Linked DNA regions of Homo sapiens: region 2 is linked to region 1. The links are contacts of gene promoters, found by promoter capture Hi-C in blood cells and fetal thymus (Javierre and others, 2016). All regions are on one chromosome and are shown on one strand. The core of a region is centred on a gene start or on the middle of the fragment in contact, and the rest is flanking DNA. Distances in the headings are between cores, read along the strand shown. Region 1 holds the start of OR52E8 (olfactory receptor family 52 subfamily E member 8). Region 2 overlaps TRIM6 (tripartite motif containing 6).

Evidence for each region. The method cuts DNA at HindIII sites, captures the fragments that hold promoters and counts their contacts. A CHiCAGO score of 5 or more calls a contact.
Region 2: a contact is called between a fragment that was not itself captured here and the fragment with the promoter of OR52E8 in region 1, in 1 of 17 cell types (megakaryocytes). The highest score is 5.1, in megakaryocytes.

The regions. Positions count from the first base shown.
Region 1 is chr11:5,854,398-5,859,788 of GRCh38, reverse strand. OR52E8 (olfactory receptor family 52 subfamily E member 8) reads left to right here and starts at 2,099. Exons shown (of 1, transcript NM_001005168.3): 1 at 2,099-3,040. The coding sequence starts at 2,099. The coding sequence ends at 3,040. The HindIII fragment of the contact is 1,911 bases long and covers 1,232-3,142 here.
Region 2 is chr11:5,605,666-5,610,029 of GRCh38, reverse strand. It overlaps TRIM6 (tripartite motif containing 6), which reads right to left. Exons shown (of 8, transcript NM_001003818.3): 5 at 1,636-1,658. It overlaps TRIM6-TRIM34 (TRIM6-TRIM34 readthrough), which reads right to left. Exons shown (of 14, transcript NM_001003819.4): 5 at 1,636-1,658. It also overlaps a transcript of TRIM5 not described here. Among named protein-coding and RNA genes, the nearest start is that of TRIM6-TRIM34, 11 kb to the right of the region's middle. The HindIII fragment of the contact is 260 bases long and covers 2,535-2,794 here.

The sequences.
Region 1 (5,391 bases), core at 850-3,349:
TTGAAGAGGATGACTGATTTCATTTTTATATCCTAAGTGGCCACTGTGCTTTTTTTCCCACTTTGCCCCTGCTTATTTATACAGAATAAAATTTTCTTTCTTTTTTGTCAGAAGAATTTCTCTGTAAGTCAGCATAAGCCTAACTTCCTCTATACAATTTTTCTTGACTCACCTCTACATTTAAAACATCCTGTGCACATTTCTACCATAGCACTTGCAGTACAGTTCTTAAATTTCATGTTTGGAATTTTATCTTCTTTACTACGTGGTGATTTCCTTAAGGATATATGACCAGTTTTATTCATTTTTTGTATTTAAACTTCCTAATTACCACTGATACATAGAGAACCTCTTCAATATTTGATGGGATAAATTGTGAAAGGTATTTCGCTGCCTATTTTGTGTATTCTCAATTAGTGAAAAACAGGAAGTTTATACCCTTATCTCTGATAGTTTCACCCAAGTTTATACACACACATTCTCTCTCTCTCTCTCTCTCTGAAATAATTTCCCAAATTATCAAATAATCTCTCATTTTTGCTATTCTTCGTATGCTTCAAATAGGTACTACCAGCAATGCATTTTTGTTGTTACAGGATTAAAGTAGAACTTGCTGACATTCACACACTTTTATCTCTGCTGCGTACGTCTCAATTCTGACTTCCCCCAATGTTCAAGTATTCTTAAATTGTAATCAATGCTTTTTGTGTAGTTGCCACGTCACATTTAACCAATTCCGCATTATCTGTAAAACTAGTTTTTCCCAAGTAAAAGTAAGTTGCGCAGTAATGAACTTTTTGCTTCAAATTTTGAATTTACTATCTGTAAATTCAGGATTTACTATCCGTAAATTCAGGATTTACTATCTGTAAATTCAGGATTTACTATATTGGAGACATCCATAGAGACAAAACAGCTGGGATAGAATTTGAGTAGCAGCTAAACTGTAGGTCATCCAAAGGGCTTCTACTTTCTTCCCATGAATATAAGACTGAGATATATTTGAAAATTTTGTAGCCCAGAATATTTAGTTTCCTTGCCACAGAAAAAGCTGGCCTATATATAAACAGTTTCTTTACTGAATGCGTGTATTTATGCACTCTCCAAATAATAGGATTATCTAGATTAAAATTATCTCTTCATCCATGTTCCATCATAGCTGCAAAATACTCTTTGTCAAGTATTTTCTTTTCCTTGTTTTTACCCATTTTCCAAATCCGATGGATAAGCTTCTTTTCTCAAACACAGGTGTGATGGAAACTAAATTATTTATTTCCTAAAATATGACATTAAAATTACCCACAGTTTTGCCTCCTTGTAATCAATGTCTATTTGTGGAGGTTTTAAATTGAGAACTATTATGTAGCAGATCTTTTTCCTGCATATGAGCAAGATAAATTGTTTCTTCTCTCAGAAGTATACAGTCTAGTAGTCACAAATTGTATACAGTATACACAGTCTAAATTGTATACAGAAGTATACAGTCTAGTAGTCACAAACTGTATACAGTATATACAGCCTAAATTGTATACAGAAGTATACAGTCTAGTAGTCCCAAATTGTATACAGTATAGTCTAAATTGTATATAGAAGTATACAGTCTAGTAGTCACAAATACCTGTAAAAATGCATAACAACACAGAAACGGTTTTACACACTACATTTTTGATTCCCAAATAGAGGAATAGTTGAGATTACAAATACCTTGATCGTGAAGCAAAAATATGTGTAACATTTCTATAGACACTGACCCTGGAACTTTATTTTTCTCATTTAGTTCTGGCTAAATTCCAGATTTTGCATTTTTATTTGGCAGATGACATTCTTCTGCCATTTCTTTTTATATTAGTCTTTGATATTAGGTGAAGGGGCAGTAGAATAAGACTGGTTCTATTCCTGGTACCAATGTTGCTCAGGAGAGGCTAGGAGAAATTGTGGAGAGTATTTTACCTTACTCATGAATATATATAAAGAAAGATTAATATGTTATTGTGAATTTGACTAGAAATCTGAACAAAAGAAGAAGTGGAACAAGAATTACTAATAGGAATATTATAATCGTCGCTGGTGTGCCCAGCAGCTTTATATGGCAGGAAGAATGTCTACGTCTAATCACACCCAGTTCCATCCTTCTTCATTCCTACTGCTGGGTATCCCAGGGCTAGAAGATGTGCACATTTGGATTGGAGTCCCTTTTTTCTTTGTGTATCTTGTTGCACTCCTGGGAAACACTGCTCTCTTGTTTGTGATCCAGACTGAGCAGAGTCTCCATGAGCCTATGTACTACTTCCTGGCCATGTTGGATTCCATTGACCTGGGCTTGTCTACAGCCACCATCCCCAAAATGTTGGGCATCTTCTGGTTCAATACCAAAGAAATATCTTTTGGAGGCTGCCTTTCTCACATGTTCTTCATCCATTTCTTCACTGCTATGGAGAGCATTGTGTTGGTGGCCATGGCCTTTGACCGCTACATTGCCATTTGCAAACCTCTTCGGTACACCATGATCCTCACCAGCAAAATCATCAGCCTCATTGCAGGCATTGCTGTCCTGAGGAGCCTGTACATGGTTGTTCCACTGGTGTTTCTCCTTCTGAGGCTGCCCTTCTGTGGGCATCGTATCATCCCTCATACTTATTGTGAGCACATGGGCATTGCCCGTCTGGCCTGTGCCAGCATCAAAGTCAACATTAGGTTTGGCCTTGGCAACATATCTCTCTTGTTACTGGATGTTATCCTTATTATTCTCTCCTATGTCAGGATCCTGTATGCTGTCTTCTGCCTGCCCTCCTGGGAAGCTCGACTCAAAGCTCTCAACACCTGTGGTTCTCATATTGGTGTTATCTTAGCCTTTTTTACACCAGCATTTTTTTCATTCTTGACACATCGTTTTGGCCATAATATCCCACAGTATATACATATTATATTAGCCAACCTGTATGTGGTTGTCCCACCAGCCCTCAATCCTGTAATCTATGGAGTCAGGACAAAGCAGATTCGAGAGAGAGTGCTGAGGATTTTTCTCAAGACCAATCACTAACCAGTTGGAGGTTGGAGAGTCTGTCACTCTAACCTAATAGAAAGCAGAAAAACAGAAGGGAATGCTGCAGCCAATAACATTATTTATCTGTTAACTGAAGCTTTTGACTTTAATTATAATAATGAGAATTTTACCCTTGTCGAACTCTCCTTTTCCAAGTTCTTTTATTTCTATTGCTGGATCCTCAAGGCAGTTTTATAAAGTATGTATTAGTTTTTCCATTCTTGTGATTAATATACTTATGTTCGGAAAAGTTGAGTGATTTACTCAAACTACATGTTTAATAGGAAGTAGTAATTTAAGCCAAATAGACTGCCTTATAGTTTTCTTTAGTATGTTTAAGAAATAACAGAATACGGAATAAAATTCTTACTTTAAAAAGATAATAAACAGAATAAGTGGCTTCTAGAATTCTTAAAATAATAATAATAGCTTACTCTAGTAATAATATTAACATACCATAGATGCAGTGTAGATATATGGGTATTGACAGGTATACCACACATGAATATACTCATATCATGCCCACCATAATCTTATTCAATAGTTACTATAATTTCCCTCATGCACCTAGAGATGCAAGCATAGTCATAAAATTAGATATTAAAGGAAAAAGGAAATAATGCAGCATGAGCATGACATATACATTCGTAAATATTTCATTCATTTGCTTGTTTAATTATTTAAATAATATTTACATAATATATTTTTACATATATGAATATATGTGCGTGTGCGTGTGCATACTTCTACTATGTTTCATGTGTGGGTTTATGAGCTGTAGGAACATTCGAAGACACAGTGTATTGTCTTTAAGTACTTATATACTTTGAGAAAAAAGAAATAATAAGTTGTTTCTAAAGTAGTGTTGAGACATATTTTTTTTTTCTTCAGGAGATTTGGAAATTGTGTGGCTATTAGCAGTTTCATTCATAATGAAATTTATAATCCCTTAAAAAACTTGGAGGAAGATAATTGCAGGAAGAACACCTTGAATGTAAGTTCTTTATTGCTGCTCTGCCTGCCATTTATACAGTTAAGATATAGGATTAGGCAGTAGACCACAACAAGTGGCATGTGCAGACTATAAAGCAAAGACACTTAAATTTAGCTGTGATTCAATGATCTCCTATAGAAAGCAGCCCTTAGGTCAATCACTGGGTGAACAGATAGGAGCAGAATGCGCTCTGTGGAAATTAAGGGTTTAGGACCAGAGTCTACCATTTTCTTATGGGAGATTCCAGAGAGTGATGACATGGAGGATCTCCCTCTCTTGGCTTCAGGCGAGGTTCTACTTGTCGTATAAATCTTTCCTCCTCAGGGTCACAGCCCTGCAACTGGGCAGGTGTTTACTGGTAGAATGTAGGATGGAAGGCTGTGGAAGTACTTGATGGTTTCTTTCTTGGAGAAGATTCTCTGGCCATGGCAAGACAGTTGAGTGTATTCTAAAGACATCTCAGTAGACAAGGTAGGGCCGGAAAAATTTAGGTAGGGCTCAGGACTGAGGGAGTAGGAGCAACTAGGGAGGAGAGAAGCAGCACCAAGGAATATGGGTAGAGAGAAAGTGAGATATTCTGGATGAAATTTAAAAGGATTATAAGAGTGAAATGGTAGATACGTATTCTTTTACAATCACTTTCAGAGAAATCTCCCAGATAAACAAAATATATATTCATTTTTCTGTTGTTTCTGTATCTTTCCTGGGTTTGCTTTGTCTTCCTGTGTCTGGATAAATAGTTTTAATCATTTAAAAATGTGTATGTGTTTGTGTTTATATGTTCATAGAAAGGAAATGATAGAAGGCAATTTAATTTACCAGTATGGATTGAATAATTGGATATATCAGTTTGAATGTATTGATTGAACCAGCACTTTCTAAATAGTGATAGGCAAGACTTTTTCTAGATTTTATTCCAGGGACGCAAGGATGGCTCAAGATACACAAATCAATAAATGTGATTCACCATATAAGGAGAATTAAAAACAAAAAACATGATCATCTCAATAGATGTAGAGAATATTACATAAAATTCAGCGTCCCTTCAAGATAAAAACTTTCAACAAAATAGGCATTGCAGGAACCTTTCTCCAAATAGTAAGATCCATATATAACAAACTCAGCCAATATCATATTGAATGGGTAAAAGTTGAAAACATTCTCCCTACAAACCAGAACAAGACAAGATGCCCACTTTTAGTCTTCCTTTCAACACACTACTGAAAGCACTATTCAGAGCAAACAGGCAAGAGAAAGAAATAAAAGGCATCAAAATTGGAAAAGAGGAAGTCAAATTCTCTGTTTGCTAATAATATAATGTTATGTTTAGAAAATTTTAATGACTCCTCCAAAA
Region 2 (4,364 bases), core at 1,415-3,914, 250 kb after region 1:
TTAGCATCATTCTGCAAACAGCCCTGGCACTGGAGCCAGAAGAGCTAGACTAGAAACTATCATCTCACCATCTACATAAACTTGTGTAAGATTTAACTTTTTTTTTTGAGAAGGAGTCTCGCTCTGTCACCCAGGCTGGAGTGCAGTGGCACGATCTCGGCTCACTGCAACCTCCACCTCCCAGGTTCAAGCGATTCTCCTGCCTCAGCCTTCTGAGTAGCTGGGACTACAGGCGCGTGCCACCACGCCTGGCTAATTTTCTTGTATATTTAGTAGAGATAGGGTTTCATCATGTTAGCCAGGATGGTTTTGATCTCCTGACCTCGTGATCTGCCCTCCTCAGCCTCCCAAAGTGCTGGGATTACAGGTGTGAGTCACTGCGCCTGTCCAAGATTTAACTTCTTAAAGTCTCATTTTGTTTTTCTGTTGTTGTTTTTAGAAAATACTATAATTTTCCTTTTTCTGTGTCCTAGAGATGTTATGCAGTTCAGTAAAATAATGGCTTGGAAATCTTTTGCTACCTCTAAAAAAAGATATAAAATATTTAAAATCAGAGGGGTTGAAGATGTCTGGGTTGACAGGCAGAACACCAGGGGCCTATTGCTGGGGCTTTGAAAGTATCAAATGAAGGGGTTTCTTCAGAAGAGTCTGTGGGCTTAGGCCCTGGGATTTCTCAGAAAACCTTCAAAACAGCATTTTAGGATTTGCCGTCTCTGGGAATGTTATGCCACTAGCTGGAGAAAAGATGTCCTCACCTCCAAACGGAGAGTACAGATTTCAGAAGGGACGATAGGGTTCCCATTTCGTGTGTCTGTGAGGAGCATGGAGGAACCAAGTGTGCAAGCAGCTTGACATGTCACCTTGTTGGATGAGACTCTGGAGTATGTGATAGAGAACATGTTTGATTCCCGGGCTAAATTATTATCCTCCAGAGCTCGGGTTTACGTTTTTACTGGAATTGAGACAAAAGAAAATCTACTAGGGAGCAAGGCCTGGGAGAAAGAAAAACTTAAGGCAGATGTGCCAAGACCAAATTCTTAGACCTTGAGAAATAATGCAGATGGGAATGTCACTCTGATAAAATTCACGGGCAGGAAGGTGCAGTGAGCCGAGATCACACCACTGCACTCCAGCCTGGGCGACAGAGTGAAACTCTGTCTCAAAAAAAAAAAAAAAAAAAAATTTATGGGCAAAGAAAATTCCTGTGTATTTTGAGGTAACTATAAACTTAAGAATCAGGGATGAAAGCAGGCACAGAGGTTTATGGAAAAGTACACTAACAGGGTACTTGGGGAGTCACTGATACTGCAACTCTTTATTCATTTTTTTTTGTTTGTTTGAGGCAGAGTCTCCCTTTGTCTCCCAGGCTGGAGTGCAGTGGCGCAATACTGCAACTCTTTATTCTAAATAACAGTACTGTCCCCACCTACTGACCTCCCATCACCCACATTTTCCTACCAGAGAGGCCAGTTCATCCCCTTTATTTGGGGATGCCAAAACTCCATGTGATGCGCGATTCAAGACTACTCTCTTGAATCTTCCCCACTCTGATTCTTCTTCCCTTTCCCACTGATCATGGGTAAAGGAATCATTTGTCAGTCCAGGGGAACTACCTCATGTTCTCCTTACACATACCTTTCTGTGACATCACTCACATCCTAGGAAGGAAAAAGACAGGTTAAGTCAAGGAGTAACAGGTCATGCCCTTATCCACATTTCTCCTTCCATGTCCCCTACCCCATGATATGATACAAATAAAGATAATCCTAATGTGGAGGCCACAAAGTAGAGAAAAAACTCAGGGCAGACTGTCCCTAAGAACCCATGTGAAGACATCAAAAAATAACTCAATTGACTCATCAGTGTCTTGATTTTCACAACATTGTGTGTGTGCATATGTGTGTGTAATGTTATGTATGTATAGCATGTATTATTTGTCAGGCATTGTGCCTGGCCTAGAGAACCTCAGATGATGAAGTCATAATTTCTATCCTTGAGTAGCTTACATCCTGTTCTGGTTGCTGAAGATACAGGCTCATGGACTTTATATATGGCTGTTTCTCAAACTTCACCTTCTCTAACCTTCTACCCTACCTTTGCTGACTTCATCCATTTCCTTCATTTTAATGTACACATGTTGATGATTCTCAAATCTGTACTTCTGCTCAGCCCCCTTTCCTTATGATTTTGATTAATATATACACCAGCAAATATGTCACAGGTACCTCAAATGCAAGATGTTTAAAAGAACTTAGTTCGGCAACTCTTGTCTCCCTTCCATCCTACTGAATCACACTAGCAACCACTTAAGTCACCAAATTTAAACAAAATAGGAAATAACTACCATATATTCACCCTGGCATCCTATCTTTGCCCAAGTCAGTCCACTTCACATCCTCAATTTCATTTGGTCACCAGTTGTTCACCTTTATCACTGCCACTGCTAGTCTCATTTCTGTGGAATTGGCCTATTCCTTTCTATTTGGTCTTTTTATCTTGTGCTCCATACATCTCAATGACCCCGAAGAAAAGCTTAAGTTTGGTCCACATAATACAGGATTAACTATTTTCTCTGTATTAGGGCTGTTTATGGTGGCATTTCATAGAGGCACAACTCAAACTGGCTTGAACATAGAATGTGGTAGAGGTGCTGTGTGTGTCAATTTGCAGTAAATATCCAGGATTGTATCAATCTTACATTGTGGCTGTACTGAGGAACTGAAATGATCAAATCGATGTGCTATTTCATGTGGCTACTTCTCTTATGTTGGCTTTATGTCCATATTTTGAAGCTTTTATCTTGGCTATAAAATATTTTTTTTTTTTGAGATGGAGTCTTGCTCTGTCGCCCAGGCTGGAGTGCAGTGGTGCGATCTCGGCTCACTGCACGCTCCGCCTCCTGGGTTCGCGCCATTCTCCTGCCTCAGCCTCCCGAGTAGCTGGGACTACAGGCGCCCGCCACCACGCCCGGCTAATTTTTTTGTGTTTTTAGTAGAGACGGGGTTTCACCGTGTTAGCCAGGATGGTCTCAATCTCCTGACCTCATGATCCGCCTGCCTCGGCCTCCCAAAGTGCTGGGATTACAGGCGTGAGCCACCGCGCTCGGCCTTGGCTATAAAATCTTAATGGGCAACAATTCACACAGATATGGAAAAGAGAAAGAACAATGTCTGTGATGGGAAAATTCCAGAAAGTTTATTTTTAGAAAAGACTACTCAAGTTTAAATGTCCGTGGGGCAGTCATACTAATGAATGTGGAAGTGTCTAAACTAGCAATATGAATTGACGATTCATTTGCATTTAAAAAATATTTACAGTTTGAGGACTGTTGAGGAGCCAGAACAAAAGGTGAAGGAGAAAGTATCAGGGTAATAATATCAATGATGAGGACAAAAAGGCAAGAAGAATAAAATGAAGATGCAAAGCAGGAAGCAGTGAATGAGAAAAAGCTGTAACAGGCAGAAAGTAGCTACCCATGGCTCTAATACTAAGACCCAAGAATATGTAAATAAACAATTATTCCACCAAGAAAGAAGGAGCAAGAGGAAAGCACGAAGACAAACAAAATATAAAGAATATCTTACACTCTGAAGGTTACAGAATATCACAAGCTACATCATGCCTCAAATTCACAACCACACTATTCATTCTATGCAGAAAATAGCTGCTAGAATTTCAACCTCAGTTCAAGTCCCTCCATCAAATCTCTCTAGGCTTGATACCTTGTAATCTGCGACCTACACACATACAGACCAGAGCCCAGACCCCCAAAACCAGTTCAAATATCAATTGCTACAGTATGTTAAATGATTCTGCTCTAGAGAAGAGAGTGAAAACAAAGAAGGGCTGGTAATACATCATCTCTAAGAATTTAGCTTGGCGTAAGTGTGCCTGTGACTAAGCTGGGTAAGAAGCACTTGGCAAATTCCCAACACAGCATCAGAGACGAGAGGTGCCTAATGAACAGTGGTTCTCAACTGGGAGAGCACTGTGTTCACCCTGGGGCTATCGTGGCAATGTCTGAAGAAATTTGGGGTTGTCACATCTGGGGTGGTGCTGCTGACATCTAGTGAGCAGAGGCCAGAGACGCTGCTAAGCATCCTACAATGTACAGGAGAACCCCACGCAGCAAAGAATTATCCAGCCAGAAATGTAAATAGTGCCAAGACTGAGAAAGAAAGAACAACATCACTGGATACAACAGAACTTCTCCACAGCATCAAATAAACTTTTAGACAACCCTTTATAAATAAAAATGGGACTTTCCCTTGCATTTGTACTCTGAATTATCTTACGCTTTACTCCATACCTCTAAACAGTTTAATAGGGGATAGGCACTATAGCGCCAAAGGAATGTTTTCTCT